2 separate regions of the Homo sapiens genome follow, and region 1 is linked to region 2. The links are contacts of gene promoters, found by promoter capture Hi-C in human tissues and cell types (Jung and others, 2019). All regions are on one chromosome and are shown on one strand. The core of a region is centred on a gene start or on the middle of the fragment in contact, and the rest is flanking DNA. Distances in the headings are between cores, read along the strand shown.

Region 1 (4,475 bases), core at 350-2,849, 300 kb after region 2:
CCCCAAAAGGACAAGGACCTGCAAACCCGGCGGCCCCCCCAGAGGAGGGCAGCCCCCCGCAGTTGCGGCAGTGGTGGGCGCAAGGTGCTGACCCCCTTGCCTGACCCGCTGGGGCTGGAGGAGCTGAAGGACACAGGGGCTGGGCTGGTGCCCGAGGCTGTCCCCGGCAAGCCGCCCTTCGCAGAGCCGGACGCGGTGCTGTCCATCGTTGTGGGTGGTGCGGTGGGCGCGGAAACTGAGCTGGTGGTACCTGGACACGCTGAGGGGCTGGGCTCCAACCTGGCTCTGGCGGAGCTGCAGGCTGGGGCCGAGGGCCCATGTGCCATGCTCGCTGTGCCCGTCTACATCCAGGCCTCCGAGTGACGGACCTGAGGTGTCTGTTTCCTGGGCAGGCCTGATGCTCCTGTTTGGGTCCAGGGCCCCTGGGGGCAGACCGGTGATCCTTACCAGTGGAAGCGAGCCATCGAGCCATTGGCAGAAATCCTGCTGAATGTCATTCAGAAACCTCAGCCCATGGTCGCCCTCCTGTGCCCCTCTCCTGCCGGAAAGCCCTGCAACATTCTAGGGTTGGGGGCAGGGCCATCCACGGTTTCTGGGCAGAGCCATGGTGGCAGGAGAGAGATGGCTGAAGCCTGAGCAGCCCAGAGTCCCGCTGGTCTAGGCTGGTGGTCGGGGCCCCTGGGAGAGGAGACAGGGCATTCCTCCCCACTCTGTCTCCAGGCTGCCTCTGGGTAGCCTCTAGTCTGCTGTTCTTCAGGAGGCCTGCCATAAACTCTTCGGAGTTTACGTGTTGCACCTTTTCACAGACGGTTCCCCACAGCATCCTCAGACAGCTCTGTGATGTAGCTTTTAGGAGGCACTCAGGTGTCACGGCTAGACTGCAGCTATGAGACAGATCTGGCTTCAAATCCAAGAGTTGCCATGCACTTGCTGTGTGACCTTGGGCAAGTCACTTCACTTCTCTGAGCCCCGTGTTCCTCATCTGTACAATGGGGCTTACGATACTACTACCTCATAGGGTTGTCCTGGGGATCCAGTATGATGAAGTGCGCCAGGGGCTTGGCATGGTGCCCGGCACGCAGAAAGTGCTCAATAAATGTTTTTGTCATAACGTGTCCGGGTGGCCTGGGCCAAGCTGTGGCAGTTTCCTTCTTTGCCCCTAGGTGGCAGCACTCCCCCTCTGAAGCTTGTGGTGGCTGAGGGGTCCCAGGCCCCTCACACAGGGAGCCCTGGAGAGATGATAAGGGAAGCAAGGCTGGGCACGGCAGCTCATGCCTGTAATCCCAGCACTTTGGGAGGCCAAGGTGGGCTGATCACCTGAGATCAGGAGTTTGAGACCAGTCTGGCCAACATGGCAAAACCTCGTCTCTAGTAAAAATACAAAAATTAACCGGGTGTGGTGGTGCACACCTGTATTCCCAGCTACTTGGGAGGCTGAGGCGGGAGAATCACTTGAACCCAGGAGACAGAGGTTGCAGTGAGCTGAGATCGTGCCACTGCACTCCAGTGTGGGAGACAGAGTGAGACCCTGTCTCAAAAAAAAAAAAAAAAAATTAGCTGGGCATGGTGGTGGGTGCCTGCAGTCCCAGATATGCTGGAGGCTAATGTGGGAGGATCACTTGAGCCCAGGAGGTTGAGGCTGCAGTGAGCTGAGATTGTGCCACTGCATTCCAGCCTGGGCAACTGAGCAAGACCCTGTCTCAAAGATTTAAAAAAAAAGAAAAGAAACGAAAAAAAAGAAAGGAAATTGGGAACACCCATCCACAGAAAACAGTCCAGGACAACACCCCATGGGGGTCGGGGTTTGTACTCACTTGTGGGAATTCAGGATAGTTAGCCACCTCCAAATCCGTTGTAAACAAGATCAGAAATCCCTCTCGTGTCGGCATCTGGAGGCCATCAATGTCACCGCGTCCAGTGCTTCCTCCTACCTCTCAGCTGGTCCCGGTGGGAGGTGGACCGGGCTCATGAGGAGGCGGGAAGGAGAAAAGGGCCTTGACTAGTGTTTTCCTGTTTATCTTCACAGCCACCCTTCTGGGCTGTTGGACTCCATTTGATGACTGAATTGTTTTGAAGGCTGGCAGGTCCCTCAGGCATCTGTGTTGGATCTCAGGGCTGGAACTCAGAGCCAGGCCCAGCTTCCCACATCCTCAGGAAGGGTGTGACGCGGCAGGAGGGACAGAGTTGATGGGGGTGAGGTGTGTAAGTGTACCGGCCTGCACAAAGGCCCGAGGGGGACTGGTGGGGACAGGAAGTCAGAGGGGATGCCCCTGGAGCTGGGCCTTGGCCCGGGGTGCTTTGATGGGTGGATGGATAGGGGAAGGTGTGCTGGGTGAGAGCAGGGCGCGTGCAAACACCTTGGGGTGGGACAGTGCCAGGCCTGCTATGTTCTGGGGCCGGCGGATGTTCCAGGGTGACCAGAGGTCTCAGAGGAGTAGGTGGATAATGATCATGGCTGTTGCTTCACCTTCTCCACACGAGGGACACTGTGCCAGGCTATTTACAGTCACGTCGCCTCAGCCTGTCATGTGAGTGCTGTTACTTTCTGTATTTTACAGCTGAGAAAACCCAGGCCCAGAGGGGTAAACTTCCTTACCCAAGCTCACACAGCCAGGAAAGCTGCAGAGCTGGGACTCAAGCCACGGCAGCCTGCCTCCATGGGTTCTTAGCCACTTTCCACGATTGAAGTGTGGGTTGATGAATCAGAGAGGGCCTTAGATGTGGGTTAAGGAATCTGGACTTTATTCTCCACATAATGAAGGGGAGTCATGGGAGACAGTGAACATTTTTAAAAGTTGTAACAATGGCATTGAAAGAAATGTGAAGAACGACATCTTCAGCCGGGTGTGGTGGCTCACTCCTATAATCCCAGCACTTTGGGAGGCCGAGGCGGGTGGATCACCCGATGTCAGGAGTTTGAGACTATCCTGGCCAACATGGTGAAACCCCATCTCTACTAATAATACAAAAAAATTAGCTGGGCGTGGTGGCACATGCCAGTAATCTCAGCTACTTGGGAGGCTGAGGCAGGAGAATCGCTTGAACCCGGGAGGCAGAGTTTGCAGTGAGCTGAGATCCCGTGACATTGCACTCCAATCTGGGTGACAAGAGTGAAACTCCATCTCAAAAAAAGAAAAAAAAATGACATCTTCTTCCTAATATAACTATTTAAGTGGTTTTTCTATAGCTTCTTCCTGTCAGTGCACACAGGCATACACGTCTACTGGTAATCACGAGAACTAACATTTATTAGTTATCGAATGAATGCCTGGCACCATCCCCAGCACCTCAATGTAGGCACTACTTTTAAGCCCATTTTGCAGCTGAGATGAGGCAACAGGCACATTAAGGTTAAGCAGCCCAAAGTCACACAGGAGGGAAGTAGCAGAGCCAAGCCACAGATAAGGACATACCAAGATCAGCTATAATGTTTAACAGAAAGTTGGTGACAAATCCCAGCACTTTGAGAGGCCGAGGCAGGCAGATCACGAGGACAGGATATCAAGACCATCCTGGCTAACATGGTGAAACCCTGTCTCTACTAAAAATACAAAAAATTAGCCAGATGTGGTGGCCCTGGAGCTGGTCCCAGCTACTTGGGAGGCTGAGGCAGGAGAATCGCTTGAACCTGGGAGGCGGAGGTTGCAGTGAGCCGAGATCATGCCACTGCTCTCCAGCTTGGGGGAGAGCAAGACTCTGTCTCATTAAATAAATAAATAAATAAATAAATAAATAAATAAATAATAAAAAAGAAAGTTGGAGATAGCTGCTCCAGGACCCCAGGGTCTGCCACCGAACTCCAAGATGCTGGACAGAGTGGAGCATAAAAAGGGGCTGGCCTAGGCATCCAGGGTCTCACTCCACCCCCAGAAAGATCACAGTTTTTTTACCGGGTGTGGTGGCTCACTCCTGTAATCCCAGCACTTTGGGAGGCCAAGATGGGCGGATCACCTGAGGTCAGGGGTTCGAGACCAGCTTGGCCAACATGGCGAAACCCCATCTCTACTACAAAAAATTAGCCATTCGTGGTTGCATGTGCCTGTGATCCCAGCTACTTGGGAAGCCAAGGCAGGAGAATTTGTAGAATCCGGGAGACGGAGGTTGCAGTGAGCCGAGATCTCACCATTGCACTGCAGCCAGGGTGACAGAGTAAACTCATGGACAGACTCTTACTCTAAGAGTAAACTCTGTCTCAAAAAAAAAAAAAAAAAAAAAGAGAAAGATTACAGTCTTTGGTATCAAGCAGAGCTGGGTTTGAATTCTGGCTCTGCCCCCTCCTAGCTGTGTGACTATGGCGAGTCACTTCACCTTTCTGAACCTCAGTTTCCTTGTGTCAGTGTGGAGAATAATAGTACCTACCTGGCGAGGTTGATGTCACAATTCACGGAAATAATTCAGGTAAAGCAGAGATCACAAATTGGCCGCTCATGGCAGCCTCCAGACAGTTTGGCATTCACAGTGTCTGAAAAAGTAAG
Region 2 (4,446 bases), core at 1,328-3,827:
TTGTTGCCCAGGCTGAAGTGCAATGGCGCAATCTCGGCTCACTGCAACCTCTGCCTCCCGGGTTTAAGTGATTCTCCTGCCTCAGCCTCCTGAGTAGCTGGTGTTACAGGCATGTGCCCAGCAAATTGTGTATTTTTACTAGAGACAGGGTTCCTCCATGTTGGTCAGGCTGGTCTCGAACTCCCAACCTCAGGTGATCTGTCTGCCTCAGTCTCCCAAAGTGCTGGGATTACAGGCATGAGCCACCATGCCTGGCCACATATGTTCTTTTCTTCTCTCTCTTTTTTTTTTTTTTGTTTTGTTTTGAGACAGAGTCTTGCTTTGTGGCCCAGGCTGGAGTGCAGTGGCATGATCTTGGCTCACTGCAACTGCCACCTCCCAAGTTCAAGCCATCCTCCTGCCTCAGCCTCCTGAGTAGCTGAGACTACAGGCACACGCCACCACTCCTGGCTAACTTTTGTATTTTTAGTAGAGACAGGTTTTCACCATGTTGGCCAGGCTGGTCTCGAACTCCTGACCTTTTGTGATCTGCCCACTTCAGCCTCCCAAAGTGCTAGGATTACAGGTGTGAACCACTATACCCAGCTGGTATATGCACATATGTTCTTATTTCTACATTTTTTTTTCTTTTTTTGAGACAGGGTCTCACTCTGTTACTCACGCCTGATCTGTTAGATCAGGCCAGAGTACATTGGTCTGATCTGGGGTAACTGAAACCTCTGACTCCCTGGCTCATATGATCCTCCCACCGCAGCCTTCTGTGTAGCTGAGACTACAAGCGTGTGTGCAACACCATGTCTGGCTAATTTTTGTATTTTTTGTACAGGCGCGGTTTCCCCGTGTTACCCAGGCTAGTCTTGAACTCCTGGACTCAAGCGATCCACCTGCCTTGGCCTCCCAAAGTGCCGGGATTAGAGGCATAAACCACTGTACCCGGCCGGCCTACATTCTGTCTTTTAAAATTTGTTTTCAATACACAAGTAAAATACAAATGCATTCTATATTCTTGGTGTGAGATATCTGAAATAATACTGAGAAACAAGAGTCTTTATTCTTTTCTTTTCTTTTCAGACGGAGCTTCCCTCTGTTGCCCAGGCTAGAGTGTAGTGGCGCGATTTCGGTTCACTGCAACCTCTGCCTCCCAGGTTCAAGCGACTCTCCTGCCTCAGCCTCCCGAGTAGCTGGGATTATGGACACCCGCCACCGCGCCCAGCTAATTTTTTTGTTTTGTTTTGTTTTGTTTTTTGAGAGGGAGTCTCGCTCTGTCACCCAGGTGGGAGTGCAGTGTCGTGATCTTGGCTCGGTGCAACCTCCGCCTCCGGGGTTCAAGCAATTCTCCTGTCTCAGCCTCCTGATTAGCTGGGATTACAGGCTTGTGAAACCAAGTCCAGCTAATTTTTGTATTTTTAGTACAGACGGGGTTTCACCACGTTGGTCAGGCTGGTCTCCAAATCCTGAGCTGTGATCTGCCAGCTTCGGCGTCCCAAAGTGCTGGGATTACAGGGGTGAGCCACAGCTCCTGGCCTTGTTTTGTTTTTTTGATACGGAGTTTTGCTCTTTTTGCTCAGGCTGGAGTGCAATGGCTCCGATCTCGGCTCACTGCAACCTCCCCCTCCCGGATTCAAGTGATTCTCCTGCCCCAGCCTCCCGAGTAGCTGGGACTAAAGGCACGCGCCACCGCACCAGGCTAATTTTTGTATTTTTATTTATTTATTTTTTTAGTAGAGATAGGGTTTCACCTTATAGGCCAGACTGGTCTTCAAACTCCTGACCTCGTGATCCTCCCGCCTCGGCCTCCCAAAGTGCTAGGATTACAGGCTTGAGCCACTGCGCCCGGCTCTAAGTTTTGTATTTTTAGTAGAGACAGCGTTTCGCCACATTGGCCAGACTAGCCTCGAAGTTCTGACCTCAGGTAATCCACCCTCCTCGGCCTCCCAAAGTGTTAGGATTATAGGCCTGAGCCACCGTGCCTGGTCTATTTTTTATTTTTATTTATTTATTTTTTTAATAGAGACGCTAGTCTCAAACTCCTGAGCTCAAGTGACTCTCCTTTGGCCTCCCAAAGTACTAGGATTACAGGCGTGGGCCACCACGCCCGGCCAACAGTTATTAAAATTACGATGATGAAATTTTAGGCATTTAGAATACTTCAGGCCAAAAACACTTTGAGCCAGGGGGCTCGCTCAAAGGCATGCGCAAAAGCCATCAGGCCTGTACCTGGAGAACTCAGGTGAGACGTTGCCACTCGTTGTAATCCCTCCCCCTAGCACTCGGCCCCCGAGCCTGGGCCACTGCCCTGGCTACACCGGGAAGTCTGGAGCTAGAAAGTGGGCCGTGCGCGTGACGGGCGCGCGTGACGCCGAGGGGGCAGGTCTGAGAAGCAGGCTGCGCCGGGATTCGGCGGTCGGTTCCCGCGGAAGGGGCGGGTCAGGTTAGGGGGCGGTGCTTAATGGGAGCTGGTCTTGGGGCCGGGCTTCCGCGTGCGTTGGCCTGGCGGCGAGAGCGCGCGGCGGGGGCGTGCCCGGCGGGCGGGGCGGGGCCAGCCGGGGGCGGGGCGGGGCGCGGCCTAACGGCGGCGGCGGCGGCGGCGACGGCGACAGCAGCGGTGGTGGTGTCTGGTTAGCTCGGCGGCTGCAGATCTCGCGGCGACGCCTGCGAGGGACCCGGGCCGCGGGTCGAGGCGGGCGGCGCCTGCGAGGGACCCGTGTCGCGGGTAGAGGCGGGCGGCGCGCGGCGGCGGCGCTCGGCGATGGTAGGCGTCCCTGGAGCGGCCGCCTTCCAGCGTAAGTGGGGCGTGAATGCGGGCGGCCGAGGGGGGCGTGTGAGGGCCTGCGGCTCCGCAGGCGCGGTGATTCCGAGTGCCCCGGGCGCGAGGCCGGGAGTGGAAACTGAGGCCCGAAGCGGGGCGGCGGATCCAAGGTCACGCAGCGGGGCGGGCCTTCCCGGGCTCCTGAGGCCACCCCGTCGCTTCCTGCGCCGCCCGAAGAGCTCGGGGCTCACGGTGTGAGGGAAATTGTGGGGCCCGCGGCCTCGGAACTTAGGCCGGGCCGGCGTCCATGGGACTTGCCGGCGGGCAAGAATCATTTTGTTGTCCCAGCGCTGGGGCCACGAAGTCCGGCTCCTGGGGAAATACTACACCCGCCCGATGTTGAGGGTTGGAGGAGATGAGAATGGCCCCTCGGAGGGCCTGTTTGAGCGCAGGCTCAGTAGTTGGCTACCTGGGTTCACATCCAGGCTTCCCCATTTAGGTAGTGACCTTGGCTCTCCCGGTGCCTCAGTTCCCCCATCTGCAAAATGGGGATGTGGAGCGGGTTCCCTCCCTCCCCCAGGGTTCTTGGGTTTTGTGAGGCCAGTAAAACGCTTGACACCGACCGTGGCACACACACAATTGTGAAAACTGTCATTATTGTAATCGTCCTTTATTAATCTGATCCAGTGTGCACCGCACTCGGAAAAGTCCGAAATTAGGCTCTAGCCGTGTTAAGATTTTGTTTTGTTGTCTGTTAGTCCTGCTCCATGATCTAATTGTTATTCTTACTTCCATTTAGCCATTCCAGTATTTATCTAGTGTTCCTCCTTGATGTGTGAGATCCTTGGGGGAGGGGTGGCTTCTCTGAATAAGAACAATAAAATTTTAATTGTTTTTCATTATTGTAATTATAATAGCCAACATTTTTTTGAGCACCAGACATTTTGCATTCTATTCACTTAATATTTATTAAATCATATAGTAAGTTTAAAAATACCATTCCAGGCCCTGGGAATACAATAAACAAGATAGACCGAACTGGGGTTTTGAGTTTAGTTAGGAGAGGGAGAGACATAGTAAATGAGGAAACAGATAAACATGTTTTGCATGTTTTTTTAATTGTTTAATCTTGATGACATCCTAAGTAAGACATTATTTGAGGATGCCCATTTTGCAGAGGATGAAACTGAGTAACAGAAGGTACTCTGAGTACTAGTCTCAGAGCTGATGTCCTTAAACACGTGAAAGGGAGGCTTTACGCTTCTTTTTTTTTGCACCCATTAAATGTTGGATTGAAGATAGAAAAAGTAGATACACCCAGCTTGCAGTTACTGCTTTTGATGGTTTGATCCATTCCTCATGAAATTTCCAACTAAAGAGGCGGATAGTGATTACTCTTTTAGGCTTGCAAAGGTACAGCATCTCTGTAAAATGAAAGGCTTTTTTTTTTTTGAGACGGAATCTTGCTCTGTCGCCCAGACTGGAGTGCAGGGGTGTGATCTTGGCTCACTGCAACCTCCGTCTCCTGGGTTCAAGCTATTCTCCTGTCTCAGCCTCCGGAGTAGCTGGGACTACAGGCATATGCCACCACGCTCGGCCAATTATTTTATTTTATTTTATTATTTTTTTTGAGACGGAGTTTTGTTCTTGTTGCCCAGGCTGGAGTGCAGTAGTACAATATCGGCTCACTGCAACCT

Evidence for each region. The method cuts DNA at HindIII sites, captures the fragments that hold promoters and counts their contacts. A contact is called where the count stands out against the background at its distance.
Region 1: a fragment that was not itself captured here is called in contact with the fragment with the promoter of CBFA2T2 in region 2 in 2 of the 25 tissues and cell types used here (H1 embryonic stem cells and pancreas).

What each region holds. Positions count from the first base shown.
Region 1 is chr20:33,791,155-33,795,629 of GRCh38, forward strand. ZNF341 (zinc finger protein 341) reads left to right here. Exons shown (of 15, transcript NM_001282933.2): 15 at 1-1,115. The coding sequence ends at 363. ZNF341-AS1 (ZNF341 antisense RNA 1) reads right to left here. Exons shown (of 4, transcript NR_110623.1): 3 at 4,360-4,462. Among named protein-coding and RNA genes, the nearest start is that of ZNF341-AS1, 18 kb to the right of the region's middle. RefSeq lists an enhancer at 989-1,283. The HindIII fragment of the contact is 6,106 bases long and covers 1-4,475 here.
Region 2 is chr20:33,487,519-33,491,964 of GRCh38, forward strand. CBFA2T2 (CBFA2/RUNX1 partner transcriptional co-repressor 2) reads left to right here and starts at 2,578. Exons shown (of 11, transcript NM_001032999.3): 1 at 2,578-2,783. The coding sequence starts at 2,750. RefSeq lists an enhancer at 1,745-2,293 and silencers at 2,388-2,607, 2,618-2,897. The HindIII fragment of the contact is 17,917 bases long and covers 1-4,446 here.